Linked DNA regions of Homo sapiens: all the other regions are linked to region 3. The links are contacts of gene promoters, found by promoter capture Hi-C in blood cells and fetal thymus (Javierre and others, 2016). All regions are on one chromosome and are shown on one strand. The core of a region is centred on a gene start or on the middle of the fragment in contact, and the rest is flanking DNA. Distances in the headings are between cores, read along the strand shown.

Region 1 (4,768 bases), core at 995-3,494, 370 kb after region 3:
TAGGCTATAGAGCGAGACTCTGTCTCAATTAAAAAAAACAAAACAAAACAAAAAAAGCTTAACTTCCTCGTAAAGCAATCTTTTTCAACTACCTGCTCCACCCTGACTCATTCTGATTACCTGCTCTGCCCTGACTCATTCTCCACCCTGACTCATTCCGATTTCCTGCTCTGCCATAACTATTTTTCCCACCAAACCACTTACCCGGTCACTCTCTTTAAATTAGTCAATCAGAATTAGTTTAGCCTGTGCCGTCTAACCTTAGCCAACAGGGGAAGGACACAGCAGCAGGTGCCACAAGCGTCAGGAATAAAAACCCCTTCGCCTCCCTTGTCCAGGTGTGTGCTCACCATTGCTCCATCTGTGAGGGCGCACCCTTCTATAGAAGTAAATTGCCTTGCTGAGAAGGAAAAAAGAAAATTTTATAGTTGAGTGCTATTTCTTTTGCGGCACCAAAACTTTATTTATAATGCTGGCAAGCCTAAAATTTGTAGGTCAAGTTAGAGACCCAGGAAAGAGCTGAAGGCAGTCTGGGGGCAGGATTCCTTCTTCCTCAGAGGACCTTAGTCTTTTCTCTTATGACCTTCCCTTGACGGGATGAGGCCAACCCACCTTGTGGAGGACCAACTGCTTTACTCAAGTCTAATTTAACTGTTAATCACATCTTAAAAAATACCAGCTATCATAGTACTCCAGAACAAAGGCAGTCAGTGTCTCTGCTCACAAAACACGGGAAAGTGCAGGTGACCCATGGAGAATTGTCCCCCAACACTATGTTTTTTCTTTTTTTGGATGGAGTTTCGCTCTTGTCACCCAGGCTGGAGTGCAATACCACCATCTTGGCTCACTGCAACCTCTACCTCCTGGGTTCAAGAGATTCTCCTGCCTTAGCCTCCTGAGTAGCTGGGATTTATTACAGGCGCCTGCCACCTCGCCGGGCTAATTTTTGTATTTTTAGTAGAGACAGGGTTTCACCACGTTGGCCAGGCTGGTCTCCAACTCCTCACCTCAGGTGATCCGCCAGCCTCAGCCTCCCAAAGTGCTGGGATTATAGGCATGAGCCACTGCGCCCGGCCAACACTACTTATTTTATAAAAACTCATTAATTACTGGTGTCTTTAGACTCCCTCTGTCCCTCCCCTCCATCCCCAACATTTACTTTTAAAATTTAAGACAAAACTTAAACATTAAACAATTATGAATTTAATTCCCCCATTTATATTACATTGATTAAGCTTTACACTATGACCCAGGTTCTAGGTGGTTGGGACACAATGGTTCAATCCCTGTCTAGTAAATAAAACGGACACCTTAAGCGCTACAATCAAGGTGCGCACGGGGTGCTACAGAACAATACGCAGACAGGAGGAGGTGGGGGGAAAGGTGAGACTTCCCAGGCAGGTGTCATCCCAGAATAACTTTTACACAGGGTGACTAAGCGAGTTAGTGACTGCGCGGAAAACGGGCTTCCAAGGTTCACAAGGCTCGTGCTGCGGCTCCGGGAGTTATGTCACAGTAAGCTTACTATCATCCTTTGGGCATCTGCTTTACGGATGAGTTCATCAGGATTTAAAGGATCTTGGTTCCATATCCTTCCCCTTCCTCACAGAGGCCGCCAGCCCGGAGCCCCTCTAGGCCCTCCTCCCTCCTGCATCTACTGGCCGCGAGCCTTTCCCTCCCCGCCCCCTTCACACAGGCCGCCCCCAGCCTCCCAACCCCCCGGTTCCGTTCCACGGGAGGCCCCGGCCTCCCTGCCCTCTCCTCCACCGTTCTACCCGCATCGCCCGGCTTCCCGCAAGCCGCTGGCACCGTCCCCTCAACACCCTCCGCCCACCGCCACTCCCTTCCACTGAGGGGGACCGGGCTGCCTTCTCTCTGACCCGCCGTTCTCCGCCCCCACCCACTTCCCCAGGCCTCCCGCACCACCCCCTTCCCGCCGCGCTCTCTCCCGCCCCCGCGCTTCCGGCCCCGCCCGCCCCCGCGCGGAGGACTGTGGGAGCGGCTTCCTTGGATTCCGCGCTTGGCAACGGCTCGGCGTCGCGCTTTGGCCAACCGCTGCGTCGTCCCTGGGCCCGAATAACTGTCGCCCGCTTCCCTCAGCGTGAGGTAGGAGAAGGGCGCTGGGGCCTAGTGCCTCAGGGCCCCTGGCAGCCGTGCCCCTGCGGCGTCCTGTGTGGCGCATCCCGCCGAGGGCCTCTTCGCCCGTCTCCTGCCCGCCCCTGTCGGCCCCGGGGCGGTCTGAGGCGGGGCCCCAGATGGACTCGGCCTGCCCCTGCTTTTCTTCCTCAGGCTCCCGAGTTGTCTACTCAGAAACGCGGGCGTTGTTTCTCACATCGGTGTCCCCAGCTCACAGGCTTTTCTTGCTCCTCTGAACTGGGACGGGCGTCGCTGACCGCTTGGCGATGTCCCAAGTCCCAGTCACGCCTGACGGGGAAACTTAAAACCCAGTTAGATTACTGCGCCAGCTCTGGAATCGCACAGCAGAGATGGTGCACATCGCTCTTTAATTTTCTTGTTAGGTGAAGCACTTCAAATTGCCTGATGAAAGTTGAATCAGGAATGAAGATAAAAGTACACAACAATGCAGAAAGCGGTACTTAGCCTCACAAAGATGGAAACATTCCAAAAACGTGAAGTACTGTTGTCCCAAGATTCTTTCTAAGCCTAAAATTACACTTTTACTAGTCCGATTTTCTGGTTGTGAGTTTTTTTTGTTTGTTTTTTTTTTTTCGAGAAACTGCAGTAGGCTTCTTGGAAGTAGACCAAGGGTGTCCAATCTTTGGCTTCCCTGGGCCACATCGGAAGAAGAATTGTCTTGGGCCACACATGAAATTCACAAACACTAAGGTAGCCGATGAGCTTTAAAAAAAATCGCAAAAAAGAATCTCATAATGCTTCCAGAAAGTTTACGAATTTGTGTTGGGCCACATTCAAAGCCGTCCTGTGCCACGTGCGGGCCGGGGTTGGAAAAGCTTGAAGTAGACTGTCCATAGTCAGTAGAAGAGTATTAAAAAACATACCTTTCACTTAAAAAAAAAAAAGGTTTTGCCAGCATTTGATTTATATTAAACATAGGTGGCATCATCCCCAGATTATTTCAACATGGAAAAGTTTGTTACATGTATAAGCTGCTTTGGAAATTGCCTGGAGAATCCAGAAACCCTGGGTTGTATAACAACAGTTGTTCTGCCACCCATAGCTATTAGCCATGCTTGATTCCCTTCAACTTTCCTGGCCTCACTTTCCACATCTTTTAATATTTGTATGTTCCACAAGATGTCTATTCAACTAAAGTCTCAAGTCAAACCTTTTAAAAATCTGGTTACAACCTAGCAGAAAGGATTTCTCATTCTAAAAGTTGCTTCCTTCTATAACTTATGTGTCAACTAAGCTGACTTAAATAGGGTTCATAATCAGAAATTATGGTTCAGAATAGTGGTTCTCAAAGTGGTCCCCAGACCAGTAGCCTCAGCATCACTTGGGTTTAAGAACCACTGGTTTAGTATTATCTGAGCTAAAGCTTTTAATTAAAAATATTTTATATATCTTTTACCAGTGACTTTTAATACCTTTTTTTTTCTTTTTGAGACGGAGTCGCACGCTCTGTTGCCCAGGCTGGAGTGCAGTGGCGGCAATCTCGGTTTACTGCAAGCTCCGCCTCCCGGGTTCATGCCATTCTCCTGCCTCAGCCTCCCGAGTAGCTGGGACTACAGGCGCCCGCCACCATGCCCAGCTAATTTTTTGTATTTTTAGTAGAGACGGGGTTTCACCGTGTTAGCCAGGATGGTCTCGATCTCCTGACCTCGTGATCCGCCCGCCTCGGCCTCCCAGAGTGTTGGGATTACAAGCGTGAGCCACGACGCCTGGCCCTTTTAATAACCTTTTGAAGCTATTTTGGAATGCCATTTCTATGTGGGTGACATTTGCCCTCATAGTAGTTAATTTTCATCTTCAAAAAGTAATGAGAAATTAACTCAAAATGGATCAATGACCTAAATATAAGAGCTAAAACTGTTAGAAAAAAAGCATAGGTATAAATATTCTTGACCTTAGATTAGGCAGTTCTTTCTTAGATATGATACCAAAAGTACGTGCAACCAAAGGAAAAATAAATTGTATATCATCAAAATTTAAAACTTTTGGCCAGGCGTGGTGGCTCACGCCTGTAATCCCAGCACTTTGGGAGGCCGAGCCGGGCGGATCACGAGGTCAGGAGATCGAGACCATCCTGGCTAACACGGTGAAACCCCGTCTCTACTAAAAATACAAAAAATTAGCCGGGCGTGGTGGCGGGCGCCTGTAGTCCCAGCTGCTGGAGAGGCTGAGGCAGGAGAATGGCGTGAACTCGGGAGGCGGAGCTTTCAGTGAGCCGAGATCGCGCCACTGCACTCCAGCCTGGGTGACAGAGCGAGACTCCGTCCCAAAAAAAAAAAAAATTTTTTTAAACTTTTGTGCTTCAGAGGATAGTACAAAGAATGTAAAATGATGTACAGAATGGGAGAAAGTATTTGTAAATCATTTATATAATGTTTAGTATCAGGAATATATACAGGATCCTTATAATTCATGTGATAACCTGATTTTTGGGAATGAGCTGGCCGGGCGCGGTGGTTCACGCCTGTAATCCCAGCACTCTGGGAGGCCGAGGTGGGCGGATCACAAGGTCAGGAGATCGAGACCATACCGGCTAATACGGTGAAACCCCATCTCTACTAAAAATAAAAATAAAAATAAAAATAAAAAAATTAGCCGGGCTTGGTGGCGGGTG
Region 2 (4,139 bases), core at 668-3,167, 280 kb after region 3:
CTTCCATTTCTTCTTCTCTGAAGAAGGGGATTCCCTACCTCTGGGCTGGGAAGGGGACAGACACTGAATAAAAACATCTGGGCACAATGAGAAAGGCATGGGCACGTCCTGAATTCCACAGAGAGCAGCAGCTAGAGCTCAACTATGGCTCCTGGAAACTGTTCCACTTAAAAGCATACAAGAGTCAGAATCTTAAGATGCTGACAATATATTTTTCATAATTTCCTCCACTTTCAGCCATCATAGTGGCCTTTAAAGGGCTCACTAGGTATCTCGGAGGAAACCTCCGGTCCGGGACCAGCGCCGGCAGCAGGCAGCTCTCACGCCCACCTGCCCTGTCCCGTCCCCAGCCGTTGCTGCATAGGGATGGGATGTAGGCTTCCTCTAATATCTGAGCTGGGAGGAGAGAGCCATATTCCACAAGCAACAAACCGGTAAAGCAACACACACTTGAAAAATTTTGTGTCGCCCTCAGAAGGCTTACCAAGAGCCAGTCAGCCCCTATTTGACAAGATGCATAATTACTGCATGGAGTTCCTGTTCATGTAAGTGATTGTAATTAGTAATATTTTTCCACAGCCAAACCAAGTATTTCAAGGGACAGCTTGAGGAAAAGATGAGAGGATACCTTGGGAAGAAATAAAATGCTCCTGGCCCCTCAGAGGCAGCGGCGACTCCCAAGCTGCTCACACTCAGAGTGCTCCTGGCTCAGCTGTGTCCAGGGGGACACACACAACCTTCCTCTCCCCTCCCAGGGCCCTCAGCCAATGACCAGCCCAGAAAGGTTTGCTGGAGAAACCGTCACCTGCCTGGACTTGCCCCAGCCTCCTTTACTTTCAGTAAAGGGAAGGAGACCATTTGGCCTTAACAATCTTGACCTCCTCAACTCTGGATCTTGTGATTCAGCTCCCAAAGTCTCAGGGACAAGGCTCCCCTGCCTCAGGGTCAAGCAAGCTCCGAACTCTTGGTCCATCCACTCTAGCTTCTAACAGCCCAGCATCTGGACCCGTGCGCAGCCTCCTTCACCCTCCAACACCCGGAACACAGGGCAGCAAAGTCCTCTCGCGATGTCCATTGCCCAGAGTGGCGAGTCAGAAGTCAGCCTCACAGACAGGATGGCCATCACCAGGCTACAGGGACAGGGAAGGAGCAGACAACTGGACAGGGAGGAGGGAGCCATCCGCCACCTCAGGAGCACCGGGAAGAGGGCCTCCCCGCATTCCCAGACCCCATCACACCCCGTGTCTCTCCCTCCCTGGCAGGGGTGGCAGGCATGCAGGTTCCAGCTGGAGTCCAAGCGACCTGGCCCAAAGGCTGATTCCACCTTTGGGCTCTGGGGTGAGATCTTTATCCTGTCATTTCTAAACAGATAATCCATTCAGTCATCAACAAATGTTTATTAAGTTCCTGCCTCATGCCAGGCACTGTTTTAGGTACTGGAAAAACAGCAGTAGATAAAGCAATCAAAAATATTCCTGAGGTGTGCAGGCAAAAATGATTGGGGGTGGAGAGTGGGTATGGCATGGAATAAATACTAGCACCCACTTTACGGGGGTGTCGTGAGGACTGAAGTGGGTCATTTTGTGTTAAGAGTGTGGCACAGGACCTGGTCCATGGTAAGGGATGGATGCACAGTAGTTCCCATTAGCTGCGGGTCATAGGCCAAGACTAAAGAAGAGCCATATCAGCCTCAGGAGGCCTTGGGAACAGAGGGGAATCACCTGATGCTGTGCAACTGGCTCTGGCCAGGCTCAGAGAAACCAGGGACCCTTTCAGCGGAAGATTCCCACCCACCACCTACCAACTAGGATGGCAAGATAGCAAGTGCCTTCAAACGCGAGCAAAGCAAGAAGCAAAAGGCCGCAGGACGAGTCCCGGTGACATATCCACAAATCACAGGCAGAGAGCCTGTTAAAGGAAGGCTGTGTAAGTGTACTCAGTCAGTGGAAAGTGGACTTGCTCCAGGAAGGCCACAGCCTCATCCTGGCCTGTGTCACCTGCCCCACGCACACGGCAGTTCCGGGGCAGGTCCTGCGCACGCGGCAGGAAGGAAGGAAACCACAGTAGGTCTCTCAGAGGAAACCACAGTAGCAGCCTCCTCTGCCAAAACAACAGAAATAGCTACTCCAGTGTCCCAGGTGTCTTCCCACACACAAATGTGCAATGCGATACTTGCTGAACGCCAGGGCCTCTGAAAGGCAGGAAGGTAATTAGCTGGGAGTGGTGGCATGTGCCTATAATCCCAGCTACCAGGAGGCTGAGGCAAGAGAATCACTGGAACCCGGGAGGCAGAGGCTGCAGTGAGCCAAGATCGCGCCACTGCACTACAGCCTGGGTGACAGAGCAAAACTCCATCTCAAAAAAAAAAAAAAAAAGGAAAAACGAAAGGCAGGAAGGTCTCTGCTGGGCAGCAGGGACTGATACAGGTCAACCAGACCCATAAGAGGTGAAAGGCCGCCCCTTGAAAGAAACCTTTTGATTTCCCCCAGTGGTTCAAACAGACTTACTGGGCAACAAGTCTTTGAATATTGACTTTCAAATGAAAATAAACACAGCAAGGCAGCTCTGCGTCAGCAGATATGCTCCCAGCGTGCTGATACCGCTAGGTGAGCAGCAGGGAGCCCAAGCCGGAAGAAAAACATGCAGCAGGGCCAGCACCGAGTTCTGCAGGTGTCCCTTACTTTTCATTAACATGAAGCTCCCAGATTCCCGCTTATGCCTCATACCTCTTAAAAACGCAGGCTCAGCAGGGCGAGGTAGCTTATGCCTGCAATTCCAGCACTTTGGGAGGCCAAGCTGGAGGATTGTTTAGGCCCAGGAGTTCAAGACCAGCTTGGACAACACAGTGAGACCTCGACTCTACTAAAAAATTACCTGGGTGTAGGCCGGGTGCGGTGGCTCACGCCTGTAATCCCAGCACTTTGGGAGGCCGAGGCGAGTGGATCACGAGGTCAGGAGATCGAGACCATCCTGGCTAACATGGTGAAAGCCCGTCTCTACGAAAAATACAAAAAATTAGCCGGGCGTGGTGGCGGGCGCCTGTAGTCCCAGCTACTCGGGAGGCTGAGGCAGGAGAATGGCATGAACCCGGGAGGCAGAGCTTGCAGTGAGCCAAGATCGTGCCACCGCGCTCCAGCCTGGGCGACAGAGCGGGACTCCGTCTCAAAAACAGCAACAAATAATTACCTGGGTGTGGTGACACATGCCTGTAGTCCTAGCTACTCGGGAGACTGAGGTGGGAGGATCGCTTGAGCCCAGGAGTTCAAGACGTCAGTGAGCTATGATCACACAGCTACATTCCAACCTGGGCAGCAGAGCAAGACCTTGACTCTAAAAATCTTAAGTAATTAATTTATATATATATATAATATTTGTATAAACTAGGCACTGTTTTAGGTGTTGGAGAAATAGCAGTAGGTAAAACAATCAAAAATATTCCTGAGGTGTGCAGGCAACAATGATTGGGGTTGGAGAGCGGGCATGGCATGGAATAAATACTAGCACCCACTTTACATGGGCGTCCTGAGGACTGAAGTGGGTCATTTTGCATAAAATGGGCGGCACAGGACCTGGCCCATAGTAAGAGATTGACACACAGTAGGTATATATACAGGCAGGCTCCATGGTGTATTTAATATTACATATTATCATTTAATAATGTTTAAAATTAAATATATAAAAATATTTTTAAAAATATATTAAAAATATATATAATAAATTTTAAAAAATTATTTTTATATTATATATTATTTTGTATACTAGATAATATATAATTGTATAATAGATAATATATAATATTCCATTATGTATTCTATTATATATTATACTAAAATATAATATACTATAGTATATAGATAGTATAATATATATTATATGATAATATATAATACTATACTATAAATACTACCATATGTATTATAGTATATATTACAGTATATTATATATTATCATTTTATAATATATATATTACGTAGTTATATATATATATATGTATATAAAAATATATATGGGCAGGCTCCATGGTGTATTCTGTGTAGCACACAGTATCCAACAGTCTTCATAAATAACCATCTCCCATTGCTAACAGCAGAAAGTAAAATACTCTAGAAAAAATGACTAGAAGCAAATATTATAGTTGC
Region 3 (4,470 bases), core at 15-2,514:
CCTACCGGGCCCACGCCATCCTGCACCGCCTGGAGGGCTGCCAGAGGCCAGCGGAGGAGTTGGTTCAGTTCCTTAGGGAAGACACTAGGTGAATCACCAGGATCCAGAAAAGGCAAAAGGGACTCTTCACCCCTTAAATTTCTCCACCCTTAGGTGATGGGTGGTCGACCTTGCCTGGCTGTCCCCAGAGGGTTCCTCCACCCTTCTCACCAGTGTCTGAAATTGTGACCGACTGTGCACAGCAGTTTCGAAAGGGACTCTAAGGTCACATGGGGACACGGCCGTACCACGCTTCTCAAGGCAGTCCCAGGTGCATGGCCACGGAACCCAGCTCTCAGCAGCTGTTAGTTAGGTGAGCGCTGTTCGGGCTGCCTTCCTCCTCCAGTGGGGCAGGATCGAGGCACTGATGGAACCGTCCTGAGGACGCGGGTCTCAGCCGCACACCACCTCTTCGCGAACAAGGGTCCTAAAAATTTTCCTTCTAGGCGGGGAGCACAGCCCGGAAACAGACCCTCGTGAAGTGTTTAGGAAAAAGGGAAGCCACTGAAATCTTGGCCCCGGGGTAGGCCGGGATCGGCTGGCTCCGCGTTAGTTCTAGGCAAACTCCGCCCAAATCTCTGCCCGGGGATTTTTCTGCAGAAGCCGCTCCAAGAGGTAAAGGTCAGTTCCTGCAGCGAAGGCTTCCTGCTTCACCGGCGAAACGGAGCTTTGCTTCGAAGCTAAGCTTTCGGTGAATTTAAAACGTTTGGTGGCAGTGGGTCAAGTAGCCAGGCGGCTGCGCTAGAGTACCCCGAAGGGACATCGGCGACACCACAAACCTCGCGCTGGCGGCTCGCCCGCGCCTTTTTCCCCTCCCGCGCGCGCCCGGCCCCACTCGCACCCCGGGCGGTGCCATCGCGTCCACTTCCCCGGCCGCCCCATTCCAGCTCCGGAGCTCGGCCGCAGAAACGCCCGCTCCAGAAGGCGGCCCCCGCCCCCCGGCCCAAGGACGTGTGTTGGTCCAGCCCCCCGGTTCCCCGAGACCCACGCGGCCGGGCAACCGCTCTGGGTCTCGCGGTCCCTCCCCGCGCCAGGTTCCTGGCCGGGCAGTCCGGGGCCGGCGGGCTCACCTGCGTCGGGAGGAAGCGCGGCGGGGCCGGGGCGGGGGTCTCGGCGTTGGGGTCTCTGCGCTGGGGCTCCTGCGCTCCTAGGCGGGTCCTGGGCCGGGCGCCGCCGAGGGGCTCCGAGTCGGGGAGAGGAGCGCGCGGGCGCTGCGGGGCCGCAACACCTGTCTCCCGCCGTGGCGCCTTTTAACCGCACCCCACACCCCGCCTCTTCCCTCGGAGACTGGGAAAGTTACGGAGGGGGCGGCGCCGCGGGCGGAGCGCGCCCGGCCTCTGGGTCCTCAGAGCTTCCCGGGTCCGCGAACCCCCGACCGCCCCCGAAAGCCCCGAACCCCCCAAGTCCCCTTCGAGGTCCCGATCTCCTAGTTCCTTTGAGCCCCCATGAGTTCCCCAAGTGCCCCCAGCGCCCTGAGTCTCCCCCGGTTACCCCGAGCGCCGCCTCCCCCAGCCCCTTGGCGGCCCGGGTGAAGCGGGGGCGGCTGAGAGTCGGGACCCCCCAGGAAGCGGCGCCCCAGACCCCGGCTCCGGCGCTGTGCCGTGGGCGGGGTTCAGGGATGGCTGTGGTCGTTGTCCTCTGTACTCCGCATAGTGCGAGAGGACTTGGCATTTATGAGCGCTTCTTTAATTTTTTATTGTTAGAGAAACAGGCATTCCTCCAAGGACTGAAGATCTGTTCGAGTCGCGGAGGCTGCGCGGGCCCGCGAGGCTCTCGCAGGGGGACCTAGGCTGGGTGGCGGGGCAGTGCCCTCTGGAATGGGGGTTAACGGTGGCCGAGGAGGGGGCGCCGCTGGTGCCGGCGAAGTCCCCGCTTCTTTCTCCCCTCAAAATCTCACCAATCCGAACGAACGCCTTCTCGAATTTCCGATTTTATTCAATTACTTTCAACAATGTGCCAAGGACTAAGGTTGGGGGCGGTGGGAGAGACAAGCCTCGTTTTTGCCATGGCCGGCAGGGGGGTCCCGCCATCTGCGGAGGGTGCCCCCCGCGGCCCCCGGCCCAGCCAACTTCCTCCTCTTTTCGCAACTGGGGAACTGCAAGGAGGTGACTCCTTTCGGGGTGAGGAGGCCCAGACTTTTCAGAAAGGAAAGAGGGCAGGTAAAACCTGCCAAGCCCCTTCCTGCTCGATGCACACAGCACGAAAGGGGGAAACTGATAGGATTCTGCGGAAGACCGCTGGGGGGCTGGCTCTGCACTGCACACCTGCTGGGGGCTTTCTGGATACCGTGAAACTTTGTCTCAGATTATGAGGTCTCAGTATTTGCATTTGGTTGGGGATTTTGATGTCTTGCGATACAAATGACAGAAGACAGATTTGCACAGCGCAAGCGGATGAGGGACTAAGATGTGCAGAGCAGGCTGGGTGGGGACTCCCGGGGAGGTCTCCCCCAACCCCCGCCCCACCTCGGGCACCCACTTCGCGATTTTTGCAGAGGGGAGCCAGGTCAGAGGTGCAGCCTGGTCCCCTCGCGCTCACGTTTTTACCCAGGTCAGTTCGAAGTTAAGTGGAAATGATGATTAATCCTGACAAGTCAGATCTGGCCTCAGAATGGATTTCCCGTGATTGCCACCATTATTAGCATTGACTTTTCCTTGAAAAATTGGCGCCCCGTGGCCATGGGCCGACCTAGGCAGTTTCTGCAGGGACGAGCGTGAGTTTTGTACCGCGGTTACCACCTACTTTCCAGCTCCAGGTCTTAGTCTAAGAGGGAGTGTCTGCTCATGAAGAGGCAAAGCCCCAGGAGCTGCGAAAAGCCTTGCATGGCCCATCTGAGAGATGTGCTGAGTCGGCTTGTTAAAAATGACAGGCAAAGCCTGTGGGGTGGGGCAGCTTTCTTGGCCTGAGCGCATCTTGGTTGAGCCAGAGGTGACTTGGGGTGGGGAGTGGGGCGCCGGTTGGTGGGTTCTCCCTTTAATTTCTCAAAGGCTGTGGTGTTTATGAGTCTGTTGGAATCCTGGTTGGGTTGGAATGAAGGAAGGTTCTAGAACCATTGTGGGAAGCTCGCTAGTAAAGATGGTTTGGAGATCGGAAGTTGACTGACTTTCCCCCATTGAAAAATGTCACCTGAGATTTTAGTGCCTGTATCACGATTATAGGCTCAACTTTCTTTTCCTTGTTTTCTTTGATTTAGTTCTCCTTATGTGCAAAATTACTGTGTGATGTTGGCTAGTCGTATTATCACAGCCACTCCGTGTTTTCAGGATTTGTAGCTGGAAGTCCTATAGCACTTAAGTCTTCACTTACAGATCAGCGCTTGCTTTTATTCTGTTTTGTGTGATTTCTGCTGTTTTCCTGTGAGTTGGTGTTTTCTTCCCAAGTAGGCTCAGGACTCCTCTAGGGCAGGACATTATATGCATGTACATAGTGTCCTCCAGTGTAGGGGAGGAGAAGGAGGAGAGGTGAGGTGGGAAAAGGGTGAGGGAAGGCTTGGATATTTGAAGTTATTTACAAATGAGCTTAGACGTAAATCCAGTTAACAGATGACACCACAAATTAATGATTAAAGAAATCCTGAAATTATTTTGTAAATTACACACTTATATTGCTGCATTTTTTTTCTGTTGAAAGCATTACTTTTAACAGAAATGGAAACATTGGAAATAAACCATGTTTTTCTCACCTTTTATGTCTTCATCTCTTAATGTACCAGTCCCTAGAGAAGCTGAAGCCCAATCCTGTGTTCCTCCACCCCAGCCACCCAGCCCCATGGTGAGGACACAGGGAGCTTAGGATAGTACTGCTGCGTGCAGCATACACCTTTGTCTCATTGACGTGCAGAGACTGACCAGATAGAGAAGGTTTTTTGATGGAAAACTCACTGTGGTGTCTGCCTGGTTGATCTTGAATGATGGCAAGTGGGCACTTTTCAGGTAACTATTGATGATTAACTGACAAAGATCTGTGAAGGCTACACTTTGTCACTTCAGAGTGCCAGAGATACCCATCAGTAATATTTTTACATATATGCTTAGTACCATGCAGGTAAATCCCAGGTGATTGTCATCGAGCTGAACTTTTACTCAGATGTTTAAAGTGATGCACTTGTAAGGTTATAAGGTGAAAATGCTAATGTTTAAAGCTATTTGGCATTTTAATTTGACAGTTGTTTTATAAATGAACCAAAAAGAAAGAAGTTGCTGTTTTGCAATAAATCAGTGTGACACAAATCATATTTCTTAATATTTCAAGTGACTGCTTGCCAACTGCCTGATGGAATGGCACCGTGAATTCCCGCCGGGAAGAATGCTCTAAATATACATTAAACATGTCTTGGTTGAATTTCCGACTCACGAATCACACGTAGGTGATGGCAGAAAATGATGCAAGACGCGAAGAGACTGTCCTACCACTTGGCAGTTTTAGGGCAAG
Region 4 (4,408 bases), core at 1,498-3,997, 360 kb after region 3:
GCACACTGCTATGCCTGGCTAATGTTTTGTATTTTAGTAGAGACAGGGTTTCAATATGTTGCCCAGACTAGTCTTGAACTCCTGAGCTCAGGCAATCCGCCCATCTTGGCCTCCCAAAGTGCTAGGATTACAGATGTGGGCCACCGTGCTTGGCTAGTTGCATGATTTTAGACAAGTTAGTTCCTCAAAACTCAGCCTTTTCAGCAGTACAATGGTCATAATAGAGGTTCCCTCTTAAAGGGTTATTGTTAATGATTAACTGATAGAATCCATTCTAAAATGTGCTTGGCACATGGCCAGTGTTGGATCATTCTGTGTCCTCTGTAGTATCACGCAGCAGCTCTTCCTTACACATACTCTCACTTGGCCCTCCCTGGCACCTCCCTGGCATATGTAAAGCAGATTCCAGCCCCACCATTCTACAGGTGACAGCCCCAAGACTTCCAGGCCACTTAGCAGGTCCATCTCAGACCAGATCTTTCCTTTCTAGTCAAAATGTCTTGAATTATATATTTATCCTAAACTTGAACAGTGTTTTACAAAAGATGAATTTGAAAACTCAGGCATAGTCTCCAGGAACATGCAAAGGCATTGCAGGGTCATAGCAAACTAGTTCATAAAACCAGTGCACACGTCGCTGCTTATGTCTGTTCCTATCCCCTGTCTAAACACACTGGTCATAGGTCCTTCTCCTCCTGTCCACTTCTGACATCCTTTAAAATATCACAAGTAATAGCTTACATTAATACTGCACTTTACAAATGCTTTCTGATCATCCATCCCTTGCCTATATTTATTTTGCTTAGAAAGGAAGGTCGGGCAAGGTGGCTCACGCCTGTAATCCCAGCACTTTGGGAGGCTGAGGCAGGATTGCTTGAGCCCAGGAGTTCGAGATCAGCCTGGGCAGTATGTCAAGATCCTATATCTATGAAAAAAAAATTTTTTTTTTAATTATCCAAACATGGTGCTATGTGCCTGTGGTCACAGCTACTAGGGAGGCTGAGGTAGGAGGATTGCTTGAGCCCAGCAGGTCAAGATGGCAGTGAGGTTTGATTGTGCCACTTCACTCTAGCCTGAGCAACAGAGTGAAACCTTATTCCCACCCCTGCAAAAAAAAGAAAGAAAAAAGAAAGGGAGGGAGGGAGGGAGGAAGGGAGAGAGAAAAGAAGAGAGGGGGAAAGGAAGATGACAATTTCTGAAATGAACAAAACATAAGAGAAACGTTACTTTGGTAAAACTGCTCCACAAGAAAAGGGTGTTGCATTTTTCAGCTGTAGTTGCCCAAGCCAGAAAGCTCATAGTCCTGAACAAGGAACAAAATAATTTAAACATGTCACAAAGTGAATCAGGAATTTATTTTTTCTCTAAAACCCTTTCCTCCTTAACATCACAGTACTTTTGATACATTACTTTTCGGGGGATCCAAAGATGGAAGACAGTGTGTATGTGTGTGGGAGACTTTTGGGGTGACAGAAAGATGTTCCTAAAACTGAAGAATTCCTCCCCATATATATTAATCACATTTGTACCTGTGGTTCCATGAGGCCTAGGGAAGCATGTATTACACTATCTTATTTATACTACACATATTAGACTGAATGTTTATGTCTCCCCAAATTCATACATTGGAATCCCTACCCCCACCGTGATGTTATCAGAAAGCAAGGCCTCTGGGTTGTGTTAGGTCATGGGGCAGAGCCCTCATGCCCAGGATTAGTGCCCTTATGAGAGTGGCCCGAGAAACCCCTCATCCCTTTCAGTATGTGAGGAGACCATGAGAAGATGGCTGTCTATGAACCTGGAAGTGGGCCCTGTCCAGACACTGAAACTGCCAATGCCTTGATCTTGGACCCCTCAGCCTCCAGAACTGTGAGAAATAAATGTCTGTTATTATAAGCCACCCAGTCTATAGCATTTTTGTTTTTTAGAGAGGGGTCTTGCTATGTTACTCAAGCTGGACTGAAACTCCTGGACTCAAGTGTCCTCCTACCTCAGCTTCCCAAGTATCTAGGACAACAGATGCATACATACCACCATGCTCCGCTCAGTCTACAGCATTCTGTTATAGCGGCCAGAATGAACGAAGACACTATATTGCACATGTAATATAATATATGAACAAAGAACAAGTATTTTGGAAGCCAGAATTTCAATACTTATTATTTTAAGACAGGGTCTTACTCTGTCACCCAGGCTGGAGTGCAGTGGCACGATCTTGGCTCATTGCAGCCTCTACCTCTCGGGTTCAAGCGATTCTCCAGCCTCATCCCTGGAGAAGCTGGGACCACAGGCATGCACCACCACACCGCACACCCTGCCCCCCGCCACCAATTTTTGTATTTTTAGTAGAGGCAGGGTTTTGCCATGTTGCCCAGGCTGGTCTCAAACTCAGCTCAAAGAAATCAGCCCACCTTGGCCTCCCAAAGTGCTGGGATTACAGGCGTGAGCCACTGTGCCTGGCTCAATATATATTATTGATCATTCTTTTTTTTTCTTTACTTATTAAACTGCATTGGTTCACTTTCACTAATAGTCTGGATTTGATTTTATACAGCCCTAGAGCCAATGGTAGTCCATTTCATACCTTTGTGTAAATCAGAGAAAGGTACTTCTTCATCAAGACATTGTACTCTCCTCTACAGAAAATTGTCATAATGTATTGTTTTTTGGTTTTTTTTTTTGAGACAGAGTCTTGCTCTGTCACCAGGCTGGAGTGCAGTGGTACGATCTCAACTCACTGCAACCTCTGCCTCCTGGGTTCAAGCGATTCTCCTGCCTCAGCCTCCCAAGTAGCTAGGACTACAGGCGTGCGTCACCACACCCGGCTAATTTTTCTATTTTTAGTAGAGATGGGGTTTCACCATGTTGGTTGGCCAGGATGGTCTCGATCTCTTGACCTCGTGATCTGCCCACCTCAGCCTCCCAAAGTGCTGGGATTACAGGTGTGAGCCACCTGGCCTGGCCCCTTGATTTTTTTTAAGAACAAGATACTTTGTGTGGGAGACTGCCACAGTTACTACTTGAGACCATCGCTACAACAGTTACTACTGTTACTACTTGAGACAGTTACTACTGTTACTACTTGAGACAGTTACTACTGTTACTACTTGAGACAGTTACTACTGTTACTACTTGAGACCGTCTTTATGAGACTGAAAGAAGGGATGAACGTGGAAATGAAAACTTAAGACAAAAGTAACTGTTTTAAAGGAAGGGTCCAGGGGAAGAAGAAGAGAGCTCCCTGCTTCTAGTGAGCAAAGGCAGCCTCGAGCTTCTTCAGCCCTTCATATTTATTGGGTATAAAGAGCAGGGAGGAGGAGGTAGATTGGTCAGCTGCTTAATTGATCACAGGTTCACATTATTGCTAACAGGATTCAGTTGTGCCTAATCACAAGAAACACTCGTGCCTGGGTTGTGACTGCCCTCAGCATTCCTACTGGGCGGCAGGCACAGTTTGTCAGTTTACCAACATCCTGCTTTCACGAGAACAGTTTGCTGTTTGCTCATATAGCCGCCAGTGGTGCACTGAGTTGACCACGACCCTCATTCTTTCAGCCTCCAACAACTTTACTGCCATCTTCTGGAAAATTGTTTTTATTTTTGTTATAAGTACCAAATCTGTGATGTATATAATGTGAGCAACACCTCCTTAAATGTGTCCTTGTGCAGTGCACAACCCACAACCTATACAACCATATGTCACAGAGGCTATGATGTGTATGATATTGTCTAGGGAAACTGATGTGCTTGAGTATAACTATGTCCAGAGAGATAGTAGGTTCTTGTCAGAAAATTAGGGTTTCATAACCACTTATAATTACTGTAGCTTTTTCCCAAATTACTTCCAACTTCACTTACAGAAAATGTCACTTATGGATTTTATCTTTGTCTAGATTCAGGATTCTAGGGGTGGTAGGAGGATGAGTAAGAGGAAGGGAGATGGAGATCCTGAATTTGAGAAATCTACAAAAATTAGAAGCTGAGAAGCTAAATCAACAAGCATGTAGACTTGCTGAAGGAAACAGGCCAATTAAGATCTTCACCCTGGATGACCCCTTGACTTTCTTCACTGGGGTTTCAGAGAAAGTATTTAGATGCCCGTTTCAAAGTCATTACTGGATAAAGACACATTTGCAATGAAAAAGAAAGATTTTATTTGCCTTTTCTTCTCACAGTTCAATAATTTTGCATATAAGACTTGGTTTTAAAAATACAAAATGATGATTCTCAAAGTAAATGAACCACCTCAAAAAGACAAAAACCTACCATCTTCCGAAAGAACTCTCACTTTCCTCGGCATTAAACACACTCAAACCAGTGGAATCAATGGGAAACTAACAATGTTTTTGCAGAGTGACATCCCATTAGTCACAAGGGGAATTTTGAAAAGCACACGTAAGCATAACAT
Region 5 (4,841 bases), core at 779-3,278, 260 kb after region 3:
GCCCATGGAGGACTACGCAGCTGTTGAAAAAAAAGAAGAAAATCACATCATTTACAGAAACATGGCTGCAGCTGGAGGCCACTATCCCAAGAGAATTAACACAGGAACAGAAAACCAAATACCACATGTCCTCACTTATAAGTGGGAGCTAAACACTGGGTACTCATGGACATAAAGATGGCAACCACAGATACCAGGGACTACTAGAAGAGGAAGGGAGAGGGAGAGAGTTGAAAAACTATTAGCTACTATGCTTACTACCTGGGTGACAGGATTAAACAAAAAGTAAAAAAGAGGCAGACCATCAGACCGAATTAAAAAAAAAAAAAAGCAAAACCCAACCCAACTCTAAACTATCTAGAAAAAAAAATCTACTTTAAATGTATGGACTTAGATAGGTCAAAAGTAAAAGAATGGAAAAATATTCCTTGCAAACACTAACTAAAGAAACCTGCTGTTGCTATATTAATATCTCAAAAAGTAGACCTAAGAAACAAGAAATGTTATCAGAGAAAAAGAAGGGCATTACAATACACTAAACGGGTCAATTTTCCAAGAAGATACAACAACTCTATGTGTTTATGCACCTAACAACAGAGCTACAAAATACATGAAGTTGTTGGGGTTGCAGAAGATCAAGAAGCAGAGTACAGAGGATTTTTAGGGCTGTGACAATACTGTGTATGATACTATATTGATGGATACATGTCAATATACATTTGTCAAAACCTATAGGATGCATAATACCAAAAGTGAACTCTAATATAAACTATGGACTTTGGGTGATTAATATGTGTCAATGTAGGTTCATCAACTGTAATAAATGTGCCATTCTGGTGGGAGTTGCTGATAATGGGGGAGGCTATACATGCGTAGGGGCAGAGGCTTTATGGGAAATCTCTGTCCCTTCTTCTTAATTTTCCTGTGGAACTAAAGCTGCTCTAAAAAAGTGTTATATTGGATTTAACATATTTTGGGTATTAAATACAATTTCTAAAATGTTTAAATTTAGATGAATTTTAAAATTAGTTTTTTCTAATTTCATAATGTAAAAACAGAATTGAAAGGAGAAATAAACAAATCCACGATTACTGCTGGAGACCTCAATAACTTTCTTTCTCAGAACAAGATTTAAAAATCAATAAGATTATAGCAGAGCTGAATAACATTATCAACCAACTTGATCTACTTGACATTCAGAGACCTCTCCACCCAAGAGTAGAATGCCTGACTTTTCCAAGTTCACATGTAATATTTACCAAGATAGATTATAGTCTGGCCATGAAACAAAACTTAAAAGAATAGAAATCAAACAAAGTATGTTCTCTGGCCATAATTGAATTGAAGTGGAAGTCTATGAGAAAAGAATATCTAGGAAATCCCCAAATATGTGGAAATTAACCAAGACACTTCCAAATAATCTACAGTCAAGGTGAAATTCTCATGGGAAATTAGAATATTTTGAAATATTTTGAATATTTTGAAATATTCTAATATATTTGAATATTTTGAAATATTCTAATATATTTGAATATTTTGAAAATGAAAACACAATATATTAAATCATTGGATTCAACTAAAGCAATGCTGAGAGGAAAATGTATAGCATTATATATTTACATTAATAAAGAAGAATATCTCAAATCGTTAATCCAACCCTCTATCTTCAGAAACTGAAAAAAAGCAAATTAAATACAAAGAAAGGAAGAAGAAAACAATAAAAGTAAAAGCAGAAATCAATGAAATTGAAAACAGAAAAACAACAGAAACAAATCAATGAAATCAAATCTGGTTTCTTAGGGAAAAAACAGTAACACTGACAAACTTCAAGGCAGACTGACCAATAAAAAGAGAGAAGACACAAATTGCCAATATGAAGAACGAAAGAGGGGACATCACTGCCAGTCCTATAGTCATTAAAAGAATAATAAAGCAATATTATGAATAATTATTTATGCCAAGAAATCCTACAACTTAGAACAAATGGACTGATTACTTGAAAGACACAAACTGCCAAAACTCACTTAAGAAATAATAGAAAACCTCATTAGTCTATTTATAGGAAAGTAATTAAATTTGTAGTTCAAAATCTATCAACACAGAAAACTCCAGGCCCAGGGTTTGCCACATTCAGCCAAACATTTAAAGAACTACTGCCAATCTTTACAATCTCTTTCAGAAAATAAAGAAGAAACATTTCCCAACTCATTCTATGAAGGCAGAATCACCGTAATATCAAAATATTAGACAAAGACATTACATGGGGAAAAAAAATCTATTCCAAACACATATGCAAAAAAAATCTCAACAAAAAAGGATAGTGCGTTATGACCAACTGGAGTTTATCCCAGGAATGCAAGACTGGTTCAACTTTTTAAAATCAATCAATGTCATTCATGATATAAACAGATTTAAAAAGAACAATTATGTGATCATCCCAATAGATGTAAAAAAAAAAATCAGTTCACAAAATTCAACCCCCATTCGTGTTTGTTTTTTTTTTTTTTTGAGATGGAGTCTTGCTCTTGTCGCCCAGGCTGGAGTGCAGTGGTGCGATCTCGGCTCACTGCAAGCTCCGCCTCTGAAGTTCACGCCATTCTTCTGCCTCAGCCTCCTGAGTAGCTGGGACTACACGCGCCTGCCACCACACCCGGCTAATTTTTTTCGTATTTTTAGTAGAGACGGGGTTTCACCGTGTTCGCCAGGATGGCCTCCATCTCCTGACCTCATGATCCACCCGCCTCGGCCTCCCAAAGTGCTGGGATTACAGGCGTGAGCCACCGCACCCGACCCATTCATGATATTTTTTAAAACTCTCAGCAATCTAGGAATAGATGGGAATCCCTTTAACATGATGAAAGGTAGCTATTATTCCTATGCTAACATCACACTTAATGGTGAAAAATTCAAGGCTTTCCTCCTTAACATTGGGAATAAGGCAAGCTGTCTCACTCTGTCGCCCAGGCTGGACAGATTCTATTCCGGAATAGAATTTTATTCCACATCATATTGATGTCCTAGCCAGTGCAATAAGGCAAGAGAAAGATATAAAAAGCATATAGATTGAAAATGAAACTGTCTCTATTCACATAAGACATAAATGCCTACATAGAAAATCCCAAAGAATCTATGAAGAAGTCCAAGGACTAGTGAGCTCAGCAAGATTGCAGGATACAGGTCAATATAAAAAAACTGTATTTCTACACAGTAGCAATTAATAATGGAAAATCAAAAAAAATGTTAAATACCATTCACAATAGCACACATACACAAGAATTACTTAGGCATAAATCTAAAAAAATGCCTTAAATATGCAGGAAACCATGAAATGCTGATGAAATAAGTCAAAGGAGGCCTACATAAAGTGGAGAGCTACACCATAATCATGAATTGGAAAACTCAAGCTACATCATAATCATGAATTGGAAAACTCAAGCTACACCATAATCATGAATTGGAAAACTCAAGTTATACCATAATCATGAATTGGAAAACTCAAGCTACATCATAATCATGAATTGGAAAACTCAAGCTATACCATAATCATGAATTGGAAAACTCAAGCTACACCATAATCATGAATTAGAAAACTCAAGCTACATCATAATCATGAATTGGAAAACTCAAGCTATACCATAATCATGAATTGGAAAACTCAAGCTATACCATAATCATGAATTGGAAAACTCAAGCTATACCATAATCATGAATTGGAAGACTCAATACTGTTAACACATCAGTTCTCCTGAACTTGATGTACTGATTCACTGAAACCCCAATAGAAATCCCAGAAGTTTATTTTGTAGATATCAACAAACTGATTCTAAGATATGGAAGGCAAAGGAGTCAGAATAGCCAAAACCATTTTGCAAAAGTAGTTGGATGACATAGTATCTAATTTCAAGGCTTAATATAAAGCTATAGTAATTAAGAGAAAGTAATATGGGCACATACTGTTACACTGACACATGGATCAATATTATATAAAGAGAGCCCAGCGATAGATCCATACAAATCTAAGCAGCTGATTTCTTAGAAAGATACAAAGATAAGTCAATGGGGAAAAGATAGGGTTCAACAAATGGTGCTGGACAACTGGGTTTTCACATGCAAAGAAATGTAACTTAGTATATACCTTATATTTTCCATGAAATTAATTCAGGTGGATCATAGCCATACATGTACAATTTTAAACTATAAATGTTCTAAAATAGAAAATCTGTGAGGCCTTGGGTTAGGCAAAAAATTTTAAGAAATAATACAATGACCGGATGCAGTGGCTCACACCTGTAATCCCAGAACTTTGAGAGGCCGAGGCGGGCGTATCACCTGAAGTCAGGAGTTTGAGACAAGCCTGGGCAACATGACAAAACCCTGTCTCTACTAGAAATACAAAAATTAGCTGGGGTTGTGGCACAAGCCTGTAATCCCAGCTACTCAAGAGGCTGAGGCACCAGAATCTCACTTGAACCTGGGAGGTGGAGGCTGCAGTGAGCCAAGATTCCACCACTGCACTCCATCCTGGGTGACAGAGTGAGACTCCGTCTCAAAACAAAAAAAAAAAAAAAAAGAAAAGAAAAGAAGAGAGGCGAGGCAGGAGGATTGCTTGAGCCCAGGAGTTCCAGGCTGCAGTGAGCTATGATCTGTACTCAGGCCTGGGCAAGACCACGATTCTTAAAACACACACACACACACACACACACACACACACAAAGACCACGATTCTTAAAACACACACACACACACACACACCCCAGAATGCCCTTCTTAGCAACCCCAGCTCTTCCTTCTCTTCCTAGCCAGCTATGCTCCTGTTACACGACCTGCCCACCCCCCACTCT
Region 6 (4,381 bases), core at 1,732-4,231, 480 kb after region 3:
TGTCACCATTCTTTATCCTTCCAGCCAAAGAACAGTGTGCTTTATCTATACTTGATCTTTATTTTCTCACTTCCCAGGTGCTCTTCAAATCAGTCTAACCTTGACTGCTTCCATTCACACAGCTAAAACTACCCTCACTAAGATTAGTCACTTACATAGCAGTCAATATGATGGACACTCTTAACTTTCCGTCTGCCTGACTTAGCAGCAGCTCTGTATATGTGGCGTTTGTGACACACCCCTCCTGGCTTCCTTCAGTTCCTTTGCACTGCACTGAGGCCACTTTACCTCCATCACACTCTTAAAGGGCAAGGTCAGCTGCTGGGCCAGCCCTGGAATACCCGGTGGGGCATCACAGAGTCTGTCCTGTTGCCTGGTGGGATTGCTGTCTGCAGCAGCTCTGTCTCTTGGGTGTTTACTTTGCATCTCCGAAGGAAGCACTTAGATCATGCCTGAAAACACTACTGAGCAGAGCTCTGTTGTGTGAATGGTATGAGAGATGTGCAGTTAACTGAGTCTTGACAGTTGAGATTTCTTTTTTTTTTTCTTACATAATAGGCACATTCTTAGAGAGTTCTTTGAACTTAGAACTTTATCAAACTAAGGTTTTGATAAATGTTTTGGTTTTACTTTTGAAGTTGCCTTCTCTGTAACTTCCACAAGAAATCCTTGCTACAGCTATTACAATGGTACAGCTATTACAATGGTTAGTACACAAGACTCCTTATGGTGGAGTTCACTGATTCTCAACTGCAAATAGGCATTCAGTTGGAAAAAAACACCACATTCTCTGTGCACAGGAGGATGATGAAGGAGAAAGACAAACCGGTAGAGTCGGACCCTGAGCATAATGAGAGCACATGGAGCCAGTCCCGACCAGGGGACACACAGGGGGTCTCCTGAGGAGATGAGGGAGGAGGAAATAGCTGAAAAGATGAGGGAGGGCAGGCAGACAGGGATTAGCGGACCCATCCATGCAGGGTCCATGCCAGCTGGCATATCCAAGGAGATGCTGTTTTCCTTTTATTCTCTAAGCAGGCAGGACAGTCAGTTCCAAAAGTGATGAGGACAAAAAGTGGTGTCTACGAGAAGTGAGATGGCCTGCATGGGGCACACGGGAGGATCTAAGTGAGCAGTGGGGAGCCCTGAGGCTTGCCTGGTTTTTGTACTGATGGAGCTGTTTCCCCAGCACAGTGTCCTGGGAGTAGGAGAGGAAAAAGGGAAGGCACTGAACCAACCGAGGCTTAGGTTTCTCTTGATGAGTGAAGCAGAAAGACAAGAAGGAGGCAAGGACCATAGTTCCAATGTGGCGTCATGGCACGTGGTAGGCCTTGATTCTAGGCTGGACAGAAAGTAGGAATTTAAAGAGTTTAAAAAGAGAAGAGTGATGAGAGCCAGAGGACTGGAAAATTCTAGATGAGTGCAGGGAACAGGTGTCAGGCAATAAAGAGTGTAGTGATTATGGAAGTGCTTACTTACCTTCGCATATCCTGTTCTGAACCTCTAGTCACTTAAACAGGATACAAGTTTTCACATGTGGTTTTAAAAACTGTCAAGCTATGTGGACATTTGTCTTGATGAATTTATTTTCAGCATTTTTTTTTTTTTTTGAGACGGAGTCCCTCTCTCTGTCGCCCAGGCTGGCATACAATGGTGTGATCTCGGCTCACTGCAACCCCCACCTCCCAGGTTCAAGCGATTCTTCTGCCTCAGCCTCCAGAGTAGCTGAGATTACAGGCGCCTGCCACCACACCCGGCTAATTTTTATATTTTTAGTAGAGACGGGGTTTTGCCATGTTGACCAGGCTGGTCTTGAACTCCTGACCTCAGGTAATCCACCCGCCTCGGCCTCCCAAAGTGCTAGGATTACAGGCGTGAGCCACCACACCGGGCCTATTTTCAGCATTTAGAGGTCTTTTTGGTATGCTGGAGATGATCCATCTGTGGTTGGATGAAAATCAAGTTTTGAAATAAAGTCAGATTATGGATGTTTAAATTCTTACTTTGCTACATCTTTTTAAGATTTTCTTTCATCTATGAAGGCAAGGAGAAAGTTGATATTTCAAGGGAAGTGCTTTTCCTTTTAATGGAAAAAAAATTGGATATGTTTATGAAACATTTGGAAGTCCTGAGTTTTAAGAGAGTATTTCATCTTACAGAAATGAGTTAATTATTGAAAAGAATTTCTTTCTTCCTAGCAAACCACAGACAATAACTTTATCCATGACCTGACAATTTATAAATATTTGGGAAGTTGTCAGGGTTAAGGAGTTAAATAATTTGTCTTTTGAATTAAATATGAAATTATGTTTATGTCTTATGTTTATATTATTAAAGATCTAAATAAAATATCCACCCATGTTAAGAAGTTTAATTCAATTATAAACATAAAAAGCCATCTGTCTCTGTTCACTAATCATCCTGTAGCTGTGTAAATGAACCATTATACATATGAAAATTTGATAGTGTGACTTGAGGCAGATTCAATGTTAATACAAAAATTCTAATACTTAGGCAAAACAGAACCATAAAATGTAGAAAGAAACCTAACAATGCCACAGTGTGGAGATACTTCTTAGGCTTTGAAGGCGAGTCTGTATCTAAGAAAGTAGACTGTTGGACAGATCTTAGGTCTTTTGTGAGGTTTTAATCATACTTTTATTTTATAAATTGAATTTCAAAACTCAGCTTACCTTTTTTTTTTTTTTTTTTTTTTTACCCTCAAATAGTTCAGGTCCAACCATTGTATATGAGGACTAATGGCAAGAAATGGCCCTTTTGTAGATTCTTATCCCCTCCTCACCCATCCCTCCCTTAAACTAAAGATCATGTTTAAGCCCTGAATGTTCACATCAAGAAAATACTGTTTAGTTTTGAGTTGTTTGTGTAAGCCAAGGTTACGCTGCACTTTTGAATTAAAGTGCTATACGAGTTTTCTCAAGAGCCTTAGAGGGGAAGGCTTGAACCCTCCACTTACAAAACAACTCAGGCTTTTTTTTTTTTTCTATAGAATCAACTCTCAGGTATGATGGGTTAGTCCTAAGGGTAATGTAGTAATGTTAATTTTAAAATCCACCTTTATCTATATTCAACTTTGAAGGAATAGCACTTATTCTTTTAAACTTGTCTTCTCTTTGCTCTAGCGCATAAAGTCAGGCAGAGATGGCAGTGGGGGCTCCCGTGGCAAAAGAGAAGGAAGTGCTAGCGGTGGTAAGTATTTTCTCTTTCCCTGAAAAACTTGGTTTCCACATTTCTAGTATGTGGGCTTCTGGAAACATCTTGCAATAATCTAAAGTGTTCTTATGTGTCTGTCGGTTTGTTCTATACACAGTGAAACTTCACATTAATTAATTTGGTAAGCAGTCAGTCTGATATGTAAATGAGTATTTGTAAATGCTAACAGATTTTCTTAAATAACCATGCTTGTTTTTGCTAGTTGATTAATAAACAAGTTTTTCATTTATTAATCTCTCAGGTTGGACAGATTATCATAGATGGGCGTACTTATGAGGTTTTGCTGTGTTACATTTTTAAAATTTCCATTTGAAGGAAGTGCCACGAGAAGGAGGATGGTCCTATGGAATGCTGACAGCCCTAAATCTTTAGTCTGACTTTTAGTGTAGAATTAGTGACAAGCTAGGAATTAGGAGACATAGTGTGAGTCCCAGTCTTGATCGTGACGATGTATATATGTCTTTGGACCAACCACATAAATGCTATAGGCTTTTGGTGATTTCTGAAGTTCTTTGCATCTCTAAAATTCTTTTACTCCTTGTGACATCATTACATAATAAGACATTTTATTGAGTTTTCCACCCCTTCTTCCCATCAACAATCTACCTTCTTTCTCTACTTCAGGCAGGCAGTGTAAGTTAAACTTAGTACAAATTTGGTGATTTTAAAGAAGCTAATTTTAAAAATAAATGTCGAATTGGGGTCTATAAATATACCTACATTCTCTCCTATCCATACTCAGCACTCTCATGCATATATGACCTAGCTCCATGTAACTATCCAGCTGCATTCTGTCATATCTGTTTGTGATGTAGGAGTCAGGACAAAGACAAATGTAGCTCTTAGTTAGGCAGGCCTTTCATCCATTCACAGTGTTTATTGGATGCATACTGTGTGCCAAACACTGTGCTAAGAGCCAAGGACATGGGAACAAATAAGACGTGGTCCCCATGCTCAAAGAAGTTAGAATCTAGTTGGAAAGACACACAGCTTCTAATGGTGCTGTGGATGCTGCCATGGTAGAGAAATGTACATGAGTTTTCAAACTTTCCTAGGGATAGAAACTGCAGTTGGGACAAAGACTCCTTGAATTCAGAGCTGTGCTTTGAAATTCAAGGAGTCTTCGTCCCAATTGCAGTCAAATTCA

Evidence for each region. Contacts are between HindIII fragments. The CHiCAGO score rates a contact against its expected background, and 5 or more counts as called.
Region 1: a fragment that was not itself captured here is called in contact with the fragment with the promoter of GJB2 in region 3 in 3 of 17 cell types (M0 macrophages, fetal thymus and naive CD8 T cells); the score reaches 7.5 in M0 macrophages.
Region 2: a fragment that was not itself captured here is called in contact with the fragment with the promoter of GJB2 in region 3 in 10 of 17 cell types (M0 macrophages, M2 macrophages, M1 macrophages and 7 more); the score reaches 14.2 in M0 macrophages.
Region 4: a contact is called between a fragment that was not itself captured here and the fragment with the promoter of GJB2 in region 3, in 1 of 17 cell types (M0 macrophages). The highest score is 5.2, in M0 macrophages.
Region 5: a fragment that was not itself captured here is called in contact with the fragment with the promoter of GJB2 in region 3 in 5 of 17 cell types (M2 macrophages, M0 macrophages, M1 macrophages and 2 more); the score reaches 11.0 in M2 macrophages.
Region 6: a contact is called between a fragment that was not itself captured here and the fragment with the promoter of GJB2 in region 3, in 1 of 17 cell types (M1 macrophages). The highest score is 5.6, in M1 macrophages.

What each region holds. Positions count from the first base shown.
Region 1 is chr13:20,565,151-20,569,918 of GRCh38, forward strand. It overlaps IFT88 (intraflagellar transport 88), which reads left to right and starts at 2,007. Exons shown (of 26, transcript NM_006531.5): 1 at 2,007-2,106. LOC105370103 (a long non-coding RNA gene) reads right to left here and starts at 1,879. Exons shown (of 6, transcript XR_941725.3): 1 at 1,526-1,879; 2 at 351-400. RefSeq lists silencers at 1,707-2,116, 2,212-2,400. The HindIII fragment of the contact is 1,452 bases long and covers 1,519-2,970 here.
Region 2 is chr13:20,473,997-20,478,135 of GRCh38, forward strand. All of the region lies in intron 3 of CRYL1 (crystallin lambda 1), which reads right to left. Among named protein-coding and RNA genes, the nearest start is that of MIR4499, 42 kb to the left of the region's middle. RefSeq lists enhancers at 2,110-2,309, 2,380-2,429. The HindIII fragment of the contact is 6,724 bases long and covers 1-4,139 here.
Region 3 is chr13:20,191,674-20,196,143 of GRCh38, forward strand. GJB2 (gap junction protein beta 2) reads right to left here and starts at 1,265. Exons shown (of 2, transcript NM_004004.6): 1 at 1,110-1,265. The HindIII fragment of the contact is 5,188 bases long and covers 723-4,470 here.
Region 4 is chr13:20,547,504-20,551,911 of GRCh38, forward strand. It overlaps LOC105370103 (a long non-coding RNA gene), which reads right to left. Exons shown (of 6, transcript XR_941725.3): 6 at 4,131-4,408. Among named protein-coding and RNA genes, the nearest start is that of IFT88, 17 kb to the right of the region's middle. The HindIII fragment of the contact is 9,139 bases long and covers 1-4,408 here.
Region 5 is chr13:20,451,927-20,456,767 of GRCh38, forward strand. The region is part of intron 3 of CRYL1 (crystallin lambda 1); the gene reads right to left. Among named protein-coding and RNA genes, the nearest start is that of MIR4499, 21 kb to the left of the region's middle. The HindIII fragment of the contact is 7,348 bases long and covers 1-4,841 here.
Region 6 is chr13:20,667,830-20,672,210 of GRCh38, forward strand. IFT88 (intraflagellar transport 88) reads left to right here. Exons shown (of 26, transcript NM_006531.5): 24 at 3,144-3,210. Among named protein-coding and RNA genes, the nearest start is that of IL17D, 34 kb to the right of the region's middle. The HindIII fragment of the contact is 6,033 bases long and covers 1-4,381 here.